Regions from separate parts of the Homo sapiens genome. Here region 1 is linked to region 2. Evidence: promoter capture Hi-C in 16 types of primary human blood cells and fetal thymus (Javierre and others, 2016). All regions are on one chromosome and are shown on one strand. The core of a region is centred on a gene start or on the middle of the fragment in contact, and the rest is flanking DNA. Distances in the headings are between cores, read along the strand shown. Region 1 overlaps FAM184B (family with sequence similarity 184 member B). Region 2 holds the start of LAP3 (leucine aminopeptidase 3).

Region 1 (7,167 bases), core at 1,698-4,197, 65 kb after region 2:
CCTCACAAATTCCCACTGCCCTGCAGAAAAGGGGAACATAGCCTCATAAAATGAAGGGAGACTGATGAGCCCCTGGCTAGTTCCCCCCACCACACCCCGCCTCCTGCCCTGAACTTGCTCTGTTGCTGAAGCTGGAGTGCAGGGTCCTGATCTCCGTTCACTGAAAGCTCTGCCTCCTGGGCTCAAGTGATCCTCCTGCCTCAGCCTCCAGAGTAGCTGGGATTACAGGCGTGTGCCACCACACCTGTAATTTTGTATTTTCAGTAGAGATGGGGTTTCGCCATGTTGGCCAGGCTGGTCTCCATCTCCTGAGCTCAAGTGATCCACCTGCCTCAGCCTCCCAAAGTGCTGGATTCCAGGCATGAGCCACCGTGCCTGGCCAGAACCCAGGACTTTCAATTTGAAAACCAGGAAATCCCAGGGTCATTGGGGTGAGTTGGCCACCCTACTGAATGGTACATTTGCAAGACCCTCCCTGGGGCCCGAGGCCTCACTTACTCGGCTTCCAGGGCAGCCAGCCGGGCCTGGAGCTGGGCCTGGGCACTACTGAAATCTGCCACCATGGCCTGCATCTCCTTCCGGTGTTCCTGGCGCAGTGTCTCCACCTCCCTGGCCCGCTGGGCTTGCTGAGTCTCCTCCAGGAACCTGTGGTGGATGAAAGCACAGCCAGGCTTGCCCAGCTCCAGGGATGGCACCCCTTGGGCTCTGGGGTTTATTTCCCTCATCGCTGCCCAGTTTGGGAGATCTGGGTGGGGAGAAATTGTGATCTAAGGACACCTGTGGGAAGAAGAGCTGAAGTCTCTTGAGTTGTGGAGTCCAGGACAAACCCCCACTATGGGACCCCTTCTCAGCACCCTCCCATCTCAGAAGGAGAAACCTGAGCATGGGGACAGACTTCAGGTGGAAGTGATGGAGAGCAGCCCTGCAGGGGAGCCCCAGAAAACACACTCTTCACTTGGGACAGGCGGGGAGGCAAGAGGCTGAGATTCTCTATCAGTATGGCCTGAACGCTGGGACTCTGAGACCTGGGAGACCAGGTCTTCCCTAACAACTACACTGCAGTGGAAAGCCTCCCTGAACTTTTTTTTTTTTTTGAGACGGAGTCTTGCTCTTGTTGCTCAGGGTGGAGTGCAATGGCACGATCTCGGCTCACTGCAACCTTCACCTCCCGGGTTCAAGCAGTTCTCCTGCCTCAGCCTCCCAAGTGGCTGGGATTACAGGCGCCCAGCACCAGGCCCAGCCAATTTTTTGTATTTTTAGTAAAGACGGGGGGTTTCACCATGTTGGCCAGGCTAGTCTCGAACTCCTGACCTCGGGTGATCCATGCGCTTCAGCCTCCCAAAGTGCTGGGATTACACGCGTGAGCCACCACACCTGGCCACTCCCTGAATCTTTATCCCTCACCTTTATCAAAAGAAGTGGTTATGAAAATTAAATTGGGCTGGGTGCGGTGGCTCACATCTGTAATCCCAGCACTTTGGGAGGCCAAGGCGGGAGGATCACGAGGACAGGAGTTCGAGACCAGCCTGACCAACATGGTGAAACCTCGTCTCTACTAAAAATACAAAAAAAAAAAAAAAAAATTAGCTGGGCATGGTGGTGTCCGCCTGTAATCCCAGCTACTCAGGAGGCTGAGGCAGAAGAATCACTTGAACCTGGGAGGTGGAGGTTGCAGTGAGCCGAGATGGCACCACTGCACTCCAGCCTGGGCAAAAGAGCAAGACTGTCTCAAAAAAAAAAAAAAGAAAATAAATGAACAAGCACAGTCAAGGCTCAAAGCAATTTTGGGCCAACACAACAGGGTTCAGTGTACACAGCTGACAAATATTAAAAAAAAGGAATCCTCCAGACATTAAAATGACAAAAAAAATTATGAGCAATTTTATGATTGGCATTAGGACATTCAAAAACTTGGATGAAATAGACGAATTCTTTGAAAGATACAAACTGCTAAAGCTCACTTAAGAAATAGATAATATGAAATATCCTGTGTCTTTAAAGAAATTGAATTTGTATTAAAAGCTTTCCAACAAGAGGAAGAAAGGCTCTGAGTTCAGGATTGATGATAGGTTTTTCACTTCTACAATTAACCAAGCGTTTCATTCATGCTAGGGACATGCCAAGCCTCCTGCACACATTCCATTGCACTCTACAACAGCCCTGACAGGCCAGGTTTTTTGTTTTGTTTGTTTTGTTTTTTGAGACAGATTGTGGCTCTGCCGCCCAGGCTGAAGTGCAGTGGCCCGATCTCAACTCAGTGCAACCTCCACCTCCCAGGCTCAAGCAATCCCCCCTCACCAACCTCCCGAGTAGCCGGGACTGCAGGCATGCACCACCACGCTTGGCCAATTTTTCTATTTTTAGTAGAGACGGGGTTTCACTATGTTGCCCAGGCTGGTCTTGGACTCCTGACCTCAAGTGATGTGCCTGCCTCAGCCTCCCAAAGTACTGGTATTACAGGCGTGAGCTACCACGCCAGCCGAGGCTGGAGTCTTATCCCCATTTTACAGAGGACTCAGTCTGGGAGAGGTCAGCTAACTCACCCAACCTCACACAGCTAATTAAGAGCGCACAGCTAGTTAAGAAGACACCGCATGGTCTGAACTATTCCACTACACCGTCTCCGTAAGGTTGGATTTGATGACACTTTTGGTCCAATTCTCAGTCTCATAAATGCCCTGATTTGCAGGGAAACAAACAGGACTCCCTCTTTTTTTTTTTTTTTTTTTTTTTTTTTTTTTTTTTGAGACGGAGTCTTGCATTGTCGCCCAGGCTGGAGTGCAATGGCGCGATCTTGGCTCACTGCAACCTGGTCCTCCCGAGTTCACGCGATTTTCCTGCCTCAGCCTCCCGAATAACTGGGATTACAGGCACACACCACCACGCCCGGCCTTTTTTTTTTTTTTTTTTTTTTTTTTTTGTATTTTTAGTGGAGACAGGGTTTCATCATGTTGTCCAGGCTGGTCTCGAATTCCTGACCTCGTGATGCGCCCGCCTCTGCCAACCAAAGTGCTGGGATTACAGGCGTGAGCCACCGCGCCCAGCCAGACTCCCTCTTTTATTTCAAGGCACTTCCTCTGCGGTTTTGAGATCCAGAATTTCTGGAGCTCTGGGACTTTTCATGGGTCAGAGGAGTAACATCTGTGAAATGCTGGCGCATTCAGTGTCTAGTGTCTTGTGGGGCAGGATGCCGAGGCAGTGACCCATTTCAGGTCTCAGGCTCAGCCAGCCGCAGTAGGGGGAGGGGGGGTGGCGGGGTAGGGGGTGAGGGTGGCGCGGTGGCGGGGCGCGCCGGGTCACCCACCTGCGCTGGTCTCGGAGCTTCTGCGCCTCCTGCTGATGCTGCTCCACCTCCGCGCGCAGCCGCCGCACCGCGTCCTGGAGCTGCGCGTTCTCCTCCCAGAGCCCGCATCCCTCGCCGGAACCCTGCCCAGCAGCGCCCGGTGGGGAGCCGGCCTGGCCCGGGCCGCCCCGCTCCTGAGGAAGGCAACCAGGAGAGGTGTTTTCAGGAGGCGCAGGGGCAGACAAGGCAGAAAGGGCCAGAGATGTGCTGCGGCGAGATGGAGACCCACTGGCACCCCGCCCAGGCTGGAGCCTGTGGCAGGCTCCTGAGTTCCCTGCAGGGACTCCCATCTAGTCTCTTAAAAAATTTCCTCCTTTGGGAGTTGGCCAAATCTGGCCCTTAGAGTTTAATAAAACTGCTGAGCTAAGAATGGGTCTTGCATCCAAATGAACACCAACCACACTCCACACTCCACCTGCCAGGGTGCCCTCCATGCCTGCCTCAGTGAAGTCTTCCCTCCGTGAAGTTAAGTGTTCAGTGAAGTGATACTGCCTCAGTGAAGTCTTCCCTACCTCTCAGGGGGAACTGATAAGCTTTCTCTAATACCACCAAATCTTGCTAACTCTGGCTCTGTAAGGGGTGACACTGAAGAGAATATGTGTCCATGCTGGTTTCCTTGGCTAGATTGGGAGCTATTCCTCTCTTCATCTTTCCAACCCTGTAGCACCTAGCCTGGTGTATTCTATAGGTGCCACGTGAATGCTTGCTAAACAGAATTGTGCTAGAATGTCTGTAGTTCAGGTAGAAACACAAAAATTGCTGTCCAACAGCAAATGGAGTCAGATTTAATCTGTGATTAGTGAATGTTCCAGTTTTCAAATTCACTCAAACATGCCCGACCACTTGTGCATGTATTAGTTCACTGCACACAGTAATTGCACAGCTGTGCACGGGGAGAATCTGTGGCCCAGGCCCCATGTCTCTGCCTTCCTGCTCTGGGGTTGGCATGATGTGGGATGCCCGTGGGCACCCACTTGGCACTCTCACATGCATAGCCTGGAAGAGCAAGAGCAGGGGGGTTACTGCTCTGTGGGGACAATCCTTGACCAATGGAGGACAGAAACAGATGGAAAAATGCATTCCCCTCTTGGGTCTCTGGGTGGGAGAGATATGAGAATTAGATCCCAGTAGGACAGACTCCACTTAGCTCAGCGGTGGCCAGCTTGGGCCTGCAGCCTGGCATTGTGTCCCCTCCCCTTTCCTTTTTGACTCCTGCTGCCTGGGCTGTTCCTCTTTGCCGACACCCCTGCATCTCCTCTCTGTGTGGGGTATCACCTGAGACCACACTTTCCTTCTAGAGGGTTCAGGGCTTCCCTCCTATGGGGCAAAGGTGAGGGCTGGTGCATGGGTGGCCACGTATCGGCTCATGTACTCAGTGCTCCTTGGCTTCTATCCAGAGCCCTCAGGTGAACACTGACTCCCTCCATGGCCCAGTCCCCAGCTGTCTCCATCCCACATTTCCCGTCCCCTCCCATTGGTACCAGTGGCTCCCACCCATCTAAACACTTAATGGAACACGTTCTGTCTTCCCTCTGCTAGACCTAACCACTGGGCTAACCTGTGATTCATCATTTGTTAATATTTTTCACATAAACACAGAAATTGCCTTCCTATGCTCAGCAACAGCTAAATCTGGCACACATGATTCCCATGTCCCCCGGTCCTTCAGCAGGACTGGCCACCAATGAATCCTCACCACCCACAGGCACTGGTGGAGACCCTGCTGAGGGCTGGGAGTGGGGGTGGGGAGGCGATGAGGCAGGCAGACAGGTTATCCTCAAAAGACTCCTGATCCAGTCTAGGCAACAAGGACATCTATGAAATGGCATGTCCCCAACAGGACCGGGCGGTAGATCCTAGAGCCAGCTGAGCTGTCTTGACAACAAGTGCTCCAGGATCTCAGAGCCAGAGGGGGCCACTGTGTGCCAGGGAAGGCCCCCAGCATGAGATATGCTGGGCAGCATCTCAGGCAGGAGGAGTGGCACAGGCGAAGGCCAAAGGGAGGGTGCAGATGCCGGGTTTATGAGCCGCAGGGAATATGGCAGGACATACAGGTCATAATCAGTGGTGGAAGCTTTTCAATGCCAAGTTGAAGCATTTGGAGCTTTCTCCAATGGGAACCACCAAAGGCTTTATGAAAAGTGATGCTGGTCATCCTAATACCAAAGCCTGGCAGAGACACAACAAAAAAAGAGAACTTTAGACCAATATCCCTGATGAACATTGATGTAAAAATCCTCAATAAAAGACTGGCAAACCAAATCCAGCAGCACATCAAAAAGCTTATCCACCATGATCAAGTGGGCTTCATCCCTGGGATGCAAGGCTGGTTCAATATACACAAATCAATAAACATAATCCAGCATATAAACAGAACCAACGACAAAAACCACATGATTATCTCAATAGATGCAGAAAAGGCCTTTGACAAAATTCAACAGCCCTTCATGCTAAAAACTCTCAATAAATTAGGTATTGATGAGATGTATCTCAAAATAATAAGAGCTATTTATGACAAACCCACAGCCAATATCATATACTGAATGGGCAAAAACTGGAAGCATTCCCTTTGAAAACTGGGACAAGATAGGGATGCCCTCTCTCACCACTCCTATTCAACATAGTGTTGGAAGTTCTGGCCACGGTAATCAGGCAGGAGAAAGAAGGGGTATTCAATTAGGAAAAGAGGAAGTCAAATTGTCCCTGTTTGCAGACGACATGATTGTATATCTAGAAAACCCCATTGTCTCAGCCCAAAACCTCCTTAAGCTGATAAGCAACTTCAGCAAAGTCTCAGGATACAAAATCAATGTGCAAAAATCACAAGCATTCTTATACACCAATAACAGACAAACAGAGAGCCAAATCATGAGTGAACTCCCATTCACAATTGCTTCAAAGAGAATAAAATACCTAGGAATCCAACTTACAAGGGATGTTTAGGATCTCTTCAAGAACTACAAACCACTGCTCAACAAAATAAAAGAGGATACAAACAAATGGAAGAACATTCCATGCTCATGGATAGGAAGAATCAATATTGTGAAAATGGCTATACTGCCCAAGGTAATTTATAGATTCAATGCCATCCCCATCGAGCTACCAATGACTTTCTTCACAGAATTGGAAAAAACTAAAGTTCATATGGATCCAAAAAAGAGCCTGCGTCGCCAAGTCAATCCTAAGCCAAAAGAACAAAGCTGGAGGCATCATGCTACCTGACTTCAAACTATACTACAAGGCCACAGTAACCAAAACAGCATGGTACTGGTACCAAAACAGAGATATAGACCAATGGAACACAACAGAGCCCTCAGAAATAATACCACATATCTGCAACTATCTGATCTTTGACAAACCTGACAAAAACAAGAAATGGGGAAAGGATCCCCTATTTAATAAATGGTGCTGGGAAAACTGGCTAGCCATATGTAGAAAGCTGAAACTGGATCCCTTCCTTACACCTTATACAAAAATTAATTCAAGATGGATTAAAGACTTAAATGTTAGACCTAAAACCATAAAAACCCTAGAAGAAAACCTAGGCATTACCATTCAGGACATAGGCATGGGCAAGGACTTCATGTCTAAAACACCAAAAGCAATGGCAACAAAAGCCAAAATTGACAAGTGGGATCTAATTAAACTAAAGAGCTTCTGCACAGCAAAAGAAACTACCATCAGAGTGAACAGGCAACCTACAGAATGGGAGAAAATTTTTGCAATCTACTCATCTGACAAAGGGCTAATATCCAGAATCTACAAAGAACTCAAACAAATTTACAACAAAAAAACAAACAACCCCATCAACAAGTGGGTGAAGG
Region 2 (7,560 bases), core at 5,061-7,560:
CTCAACAGTTTCTCTGGGCCGGGCATGGTGGTGTGCACTTGTAATCCCAGTGCTTTGGAAGGCTGTGGTGTGAGGATCACTTCAGCCCAGGAATTCGAGACCAGCCTGGGCAACATAGAGAGGCCCCATCTCTACTAAAAGCAAGCAAACAAACAAACAAACAAAAGCCAGGCCTAGTGGCAGAAGCCTGTAGTCTCAGCTACTCGGGAGGCTCAGGTGGGAGGATCACTTGAGCCCAAGAGTTCAAGTTTACAGTGAGCTATGATTGTGCCACTGCACTCCAGCCTGGGCAATAGAGCCAGATCCTGTCTCTAAAAAAAGGGTTTCTCTGGATGATGCATTGGTTTTCACTAAGGCACCACTCTTCCCAACACTGCTCAGTCTTTCTCCACCCTTGACTCCAGCGTCTACCAATCATAGTAAAATATAGCTTTCACCACCCCACCAGCTTCTGCAAAGAGTGTCTATTGACTCCCACAACCACAATAAACATCTCTTCCTGCCTTTCAAGATTCCCTTTAATCCAGCATCACTGTCTTTGTATAACCACCTCTTATTCCAGGCAGGCCTGATCTCTCCACCCCAAGCCAAGCCAACGCCCTCCCACACATTCTCCTGACCCAGACGTCCCCTCAATCATCTATAGCATTCTCATTCTGCTGGCTCCTTTCAAGCTTTCTTTTTGTTTTTGCTTCTACTATCTGAAAGCCACACATAGCACCTATTCTGTTCTTTAATTATAGATGCTACCTGCACTAGACCTTGATCATGAATTCATTCAAACATATTATGAGCACCTTGCATTCGTTCCAGGGACAGTCTAAATGCTAGATCTAGGCACTGGCTATGCAGAGATGAAAAAGGCATGGCTCCCTAGATGAGTGGGGGGAAAAAGACAATGAGAATGAAACCACCTTTGCAAATACTATAACTAAGAATATTATGACAGCAGGCCGGGAGCGGTGGCTGACGCCTGTAATCCCAGCACGTTGGGAGGCCAAGGCAGGCGGATCACGAAGTCAGGAGATCGAGATCATCCTGGCTAACATGGTGAAACCCTGTCTCTACTAAAAATACAGAAAATTAGCCGGGCGTGGTGGCACATGCCTGTAGTCCAGCTACCTGGGGGAGGCTGAGGCAGGAGAAGCACTTGAATCTGGGAGGTGGAGGCTGCAGTGAGCCAAGATCGCGCCACTGCACTGCAGCCTGGGCGACAAGAGTGACACTCTATCTCAAAAAAAAAGAAAAAAAATAAAGAAAAATAAAATTATAACAGCAAAAGAGATCTGACATAACTGATTCCATCTTGCTGCCCTAGCTGATTCCATCTTGCTGCTGCTGCTGCTGCTGCTTTCTTTCTTTCTTTTTTTTTTTTTTTTTGAGATAGAGTCTCACTCTGTTGCCCAGGCTGGAGTGCAGCGGTGCAATCTCGGCTCACTGCAATCTCCGCCTCCCGGGTTCAGGCGAATTCTCCTGCCTCAGCTCCCCCAGTAGCTGGGATTACAGGCGTGCACCACCACAGCCCACTAATTTTTTTATTTTTTTTGTTTGTTTTGAGATGGAGTCTCGCTCTGTTGCCCAGGCTGGAGTGCAGTGGCGCAATCTCGGCTTACTGCAAGCTCCGCCTCCTGGGTTCATGTCATTGTCCTGCCTCAGCCTCCCCGAGTAGCTGGGACTACAGGCGCCTGCCACCACGCCCAGCTAATTTTTTTTTTGTACTTTTAGTAGAGACGGGGTTTCACCGTGTTAGCCAGGATAGTCTTGATCTTCTGACCTCGTGATCCACCTGCCTCGGCCTCCCAAAGTGCCGGGATTACAGGCGTGAGCCACTGCGCCTGGCAATTTTTGTATTTTTAGTACAGACAGGGTTTCACCATATTGAACCAGGCTGGTCTTGAACTCCTGACCTCAGGTGATCCGCCCGCCTTGGCCTCCCAAAGTGCTAGGATTACAGGCATCAGCCACGGCACCCAGCTCAGCGCTTCTCACTTTCTGACCCACTACCCACCAAATTATCCTTAAAAACTCTGAACCCCAAATTTTCATGGAGATTGACTTGAGTAATAATAAAACTGTGGTTTTCCATACAGCCAGCTCTGTGTGAATTAAACTCTTTTTCTGTTGCAAATTCCTTGTCTTGATAAATTGGCTCTGTTTAGGCAGCGGGCAAGGAGAACCCATTGAACAGTTGCAAGAATACAGGTGATTGGCACTTTGAGACAGGTCGCTTTGGGAGCAGAGGGAGGGCACATAACCCAGACAGGGAAGGTCAGCAAGTATTTCTTGGAAGAAGTGGCATTGGTCAAGCAAAGAAGGGAGCAGAAGGAACAGGAGCATATGCACATATAACTCTGTGAAACACTGCCTTTTCTTTTTTTATAACAATATTTTTACAATCACCATATCTCTTGCCTCTACTAGATAATAGAGGACAGCAGAATATAAAACTTTGACATAAAGATTTTTTTGAGCTAAAGGCACTTAAAATACAGCAGATGCAAGAAGGGTACTCTGGCCTCTCTTTACTTCCTGAAAGCAGGAGATCAGCTCTCATGTGAATGCTGCCCTCCCTGCACCAGAAAGAAAGGAACATTATCACCAAAGAGGGAGAGTCAAGGCCGAGAGAAATCTGTACAAACAACTCTTGTTAGACTAACCTTTATTTCCTTTAGTTTTCCCATATAAATATACTTTTTCAAAATTACTATTTTTGTTCAACCTAGTATATGAGCACTTAGGCCTAACCATTTTGGGGGGTCTCGATTTTCCTGTAAGGGCTTCCAAGTACGTGCAAAACTATTAAATAAAATTTATATGTGTGTGTGTGTGTGTGTGTGTGTGTGTATATATATATATATATATGATTATTATTATTTTTTGAGACAGGGTCTCATTCTGTTACCCAGGCTGGAGTGCACTGGCACAATCATGCCTCACTGAAGCCTCAATCTCCCAGGTTCAAGTGATCCTCCTACCTCAGTCTCCCGAGCAGCTGGCACTACAAGCATGCACCACCACATATGGCTGTTTTTTTTGTATTTTTTGTACAGACAGGGTTTTGCCATGTTGCCCAGGCTGGTCTCGAACTCCTGGGCTCAAGCGATCCACCTGCCTTGGCCTCCCAAAGAGCTGGGATTACAGGTGTGAGCCACTGTGCCCAGCCAATTAATATGTTTTTCTCGTTAATCTGTCTTATGTCAACTTAATTCTCAGGCCCAGCTGGAGACCCTAAGATGGTAGAGGTTAAGTTTTGCCCCCTCTACAATAATAAAATCCTTGAAGACAGGGACACTGTTTTAGATTCTTTTTTATCCCATGATTTCTAACAGAAAAACATCTTAAGCACCTTGTAAACTTAGGGTTTGAAGGATGACTAAATCTTTCATCCCAAAGTGATCCACAATCCTGATTATTTGTAGACTGTGAAATGTACTTTTCTTTTGTACCATTAGGCATGTGAAAATGTAAATGGTGTGGTCCTTGAAGCAAAGAGAAAAGTAAATGATACACCAGAGTCTCAGGCTGGACCCGCAAGTCAATAAAACAGGTAATAAATTCAGCTGAGCAGATACAGACAAGGGTAACCTACAGCTCTGAGGCTTGGATGCCTCTGAAGCTCAGAGACCCTCTACTCACATACCAAGGAGGGGACAGGTTTTCGCATTCCATTTTTTAGTTTCAGAAACTGCGGCCTGATCTATCACGTTGGAAGGAGGGAAGAGCTGTAAAGTGAATGTAAAGATTTCGCTGTCTTTGGAGCAAATATAGATAAAATTTGGTGAGTTTATTGAGTTTATGATGCAACTCCATTTTAACTATCTAGAGAAGGTGGAAGCCAGAGTGGACCTACCAGTCCAACCCACTCAGCCTTCAAGAGAGGAAGATCAAATCTCTCCTCTGGAGTGTCTAGCTCTTGGAGAGTGAAATAGACATTCTTTCTTTCCTGCAACTGAGCTCAAGGTGAAGACTTTGCTCACTGCAGCTGGTGTAAGCCTCCCCACACCCCTGCACCTCAGCTAAAATTGCAATCAGATCAACAGTGGTGTAATTTTTTTAAAAAGAGATGGGGTCTTGCTCTGTGACCTAAGCTGGAGTGTAGTAGTACAATTATGGCTCACTGCAGACTCAACCTCCCAGGCTCAAGCAAACCTCCTACCTCAGTCTCCCCATTAGCGGGACTACAGGCACACATCTGGCTAATTTTTTAACTTTTTGTAGAGATGGGTATCTCACTACCTTGCCCAGGGTGGTCTTGAACTCCTGGGCTGAGTCGATCCTCCCACCTCGGCCTCCCAAAGTCCTGGGATTATAAGCATGAGTCACTGCACCCAGCTGGCTGGTGTCATTATTAAGAACAATTTTTGTATCCCTCCTCGTGCTTACCCATATTCTCCGAGTTGCATTCAGCTGTGTACTTTTTTACAATGAGAAATTTAAAACCAGCCGGGCGCGGTGGTTCACGCCCGTAATCCCAGCAATTTGGGAGGCCAGGGCGGGTGGATCACTTGAGGTCAGTACTTCAAGACCCACCTGGCCAACATGGTGAAACTCCATCTCTACTGAAAATACAAAAATTAGCCAGGCGTGTTGGCGGGCGCCTGTAATCCCAACTACTTGGGAGGCTGAGGCAGGAGAATCGCTGGAACCCAGGGGTGGAGGTTGCAATAAGCTGAGATCACACCAGTGCACTCCAGCCTGGGTGACAGAGCAAGACTCCGTTAAAAAAAAAAAAGTAAAAAATAAGGAATTAAAAAAAACAAAACGCTTTACAGAAAATAAAAATATATAAAAATATTGAGCACTACTTGAAAACTTTCTATTGAAACCATCCCCACTGTGTTGACAAAAATTTCATGCCAAGTTCTAGGCAGAAATATAGTTATAATTAAGCATTAATCAGGCTGTACTTTGGCCCACTTCCTTGTTGCTAAAAGTCACCTAGCACTACATACTGACCATTTGCATTCCCATTGTTCCTATAGACAGGATCTCTGACATTAGAATCATAAGCTTTCTGTTTAAGGATCGCTTAAGATATTTTTCAGACCTTGAATTCCAGCTACCAGTTTGAAGATCCCCAGAGAGGAATGGGGTCAGCTTAAGAATACAGGTTCTTCAACGCCCTGTCCCATGACTTCACCCTGCACTCTTCAATCAACGATCTCCACACTATAGCCCTCTCCAAAACCCTTAAAAACCTTGACCCCAAATTCCTCAGGGAGATGGATTTGAGGTTTCCTCCCATCTCCTCCTTTGGCGACTCCACGATTACACCTCTTTCTCTGCTGCAACCCTGGTGTCTGGGCGTATTGACTTGCTATGTGCACGAGTCAACGAACCTAATAGTGTTACATCATTTTCAAAAACAGTATTTACACCGTTGCACCTGTGGAACAGATGAAAGGACACGAATAAAAATAACTCAGGCCAGGTGCGGTGGCTCACGCCTGTAATCCCAGCACTTAGCGAGGCCGAGGCAAGTGGATCACGAGGTCAGGACTTCGAGACCAGCCTGGACAACATGGTGAAACCTCGTCTCTACTAAAAATACAAAGAGTTGCCGGGCACGGTGGCTCACGCCTGTAAGTAATCCCAGCACTTTGGCAGGCTGAGGCGGGTGTATCACCAGAGGTCAGGAGTTCAAAGCCAGCCTGGCTAACATGGCCAAACACTGTCTCTACTAAAAATACAAAGATTAGCCAGGTGTGGTGGTGGGCGCCTGTAGTCCCAACTACTCGGGAGGCTGAGGCAGGAGAATCTGTTGAACCCGAAAGGCGGAGGTTGCAGTGAGCCGAGATTGCGCCACTGCACTCCAGCCAGGGCTACAAGAGCGAGACTCCGCCTCAAAAAAAAAATCCAAAAAAACAACAAAAAAACACAAAGATTAGCTGGGCGTGGTGGCGGGCGCCCCTAATCCCAGCTACTCGGGAGGACGAGGCAGGAGAATCGTTTCAACTAAGCAGCGGGAGGTTGCAGTGAGCCGAGATCGCTCCATTGCACTCCAACCTGGGTGACAGAGCGAGACTCCGACTCAAAAAAACCAAACAAACAAACGAAAACTCAGTGGGAGTGTCTTCACTATGCAGTCGTCTATTCAGCAACCTTGACAACAAGCTCTGGCACTCAGTTTCTATTTCCCGGGAGTTGCCCAGCGCTCCGCCCACGCCCGCTTGCAGAACTCGCCCCGCCTCCGCCCCACCCATCGTGTGACGTCACCATATCGGTCCCGCCCCTCTACTTCGCGTTGCTCCCGGGACTGTCAACCGCGTCCGGAAGCCCCGCCTTTTCGCCCCCGCCCGCATGCGCGGGCGCACACGAATGCGGGCGCACACGAATGCGGGCGCACACGAATGCGGGCGCACCCTTGAGTCCCCTCCACAACCGCGGTTTGATCCCAGCGGTCCAGTCGGCCGGTGCTGCCCATCCGTCCCGCCCCCTAGACGCACGTCCGCTCGCCCGGCGCCCGAGCCAGTCCGCGCGCACGCCGTCTGCGCCCCGAAAGCCCCGCCCCAAGGCGCGCCCGCCCACCGCTCTCCACGTGCTCGCTGGAGGGCGGTGCGAGGGGCCGAGCCGACAAGATGTTCTTGCTGCCTCTTCCGGCTGCGGGGCGAGTAGTCGTCCGACGTCTGGCCGTGAGACGTTTCGGGAGCCGGAGTCTCTCCACCGCAGACATGACGAAGGTGAGAGGCGGCGGCTCGCTCATGGTCCGCCGCTGGGGCCCTGCCCGTGGGCTACTGGGGCTGCGGGGCTGGTCGAAGCCGCGGTGTCCTGGGCGCCCAAGCCAAGTTGCAAAAATCAGTTTAAAAGAAAAATTCTCTCCTTGCGGGGATCGGCCTAGGCCGCTGAGGACCCCAGCGGTCGTATTGAGGGCGCGATTCCCCTGCTCGGGGCTAGGGGGTGATGGTTGTAGCCGCCCTTTACCCGGCTCCACTCGGCCGCGCACTTGCTCCAGTCGTCACCCGCGGTCCTGGCAGTAACCCGGGGAAAGACGCGGCGGTGGGGCTCCCATCCGAGCTTGGAGGAAGCCCGAGTTTGCCAAGGTGAAAGGGTTTCTGAGGTCCCAGAGTCACAGGGCTCCTTCCCCCGCGGAAGTGAAAGGTCAGGGAGTTAAGTAGCTTGGAAGGGTTTCTAGAGGAAAAGCATGCCTCTCTAGAGAAAAGGGCTTTGGGGAGAGACCCACGTTTCCCAGAATTAAGAGCATCTTCCAGAAGAAAAGTGAACTCCAAAAAATTACGAAGGTCGCTCTTCAGATGTGAAGGATCTGCAAAGGGAATGGCTCTCGGAACCAGCACAAGCTTGGGAGTCATGCCTAAGCACCAGAAAGAGATGACTGTCCCTGCAGAAGAACGTTCTAGGGGGAGCTTGAGCTCCAGTCTCCTGCAGGTATCTCAGTGGTGGAGGGACCAGTCGCCTGACCAGTGCTATCTCCAGTACTGTGCCACAGCCTACCCAGATAACAGTTGCTCAGTTGGCTCCATTGATTCCCGGGGAGTGAACAATCTTAGGGAAGTTAGAACCTGGCAGAGTTACCAATGCCAAGGAAGGCCGTTTTCTTTGGTG

Evidence for each region. Contacts are between HindIII fragments. The CHiCAGO score rates a contact against its expected background, and 5 or more counts as called.
Region 1: a fragment that was not itself captured here is called in contact with the fragment with the promoter of LAP3 in region 2 in 2 of 17 cell types (naive CD4 T cells and total B cells); the score reaches 5.7 in naive CD4 T cells.

What each region holds. Positions count from the first base shown.
Region 1 is chr4:17,638,752-17,645,918 of GRCh38, forward strand. It overlaps FAM184B (family with sequence similarity 184 member B), which reads right to left. Exons shown (of 18, transcript NM_015688.2): 13 at 3,305-3,477; 14 at 499-645. Among named protein-coding and RNA genes, the nearest start is that of MED28, 28 kb to the left of the region's middle. The HindIII fragment of the contact is 1,854 bases long and covers 2,021-3,874 here.
Region 2 is chr4:17,570,888-17,578,447 of GRCh38, forward strand. It overlaps LAP3 (leucine aminopeptidase 3), which reads left to right and starts at 6,311. Exons shown (of 13, transcript NM_015907.3): 1 at 6,311-6,680. The coding sequence starts at 6,579. RefSeq lists enhancers at 5,959-6,318, 6,659-6,858 and a silencer at 6,379-6,588. The HindIII fragment of the contact is 2,285 bases long and covers 5,009-7,293 here.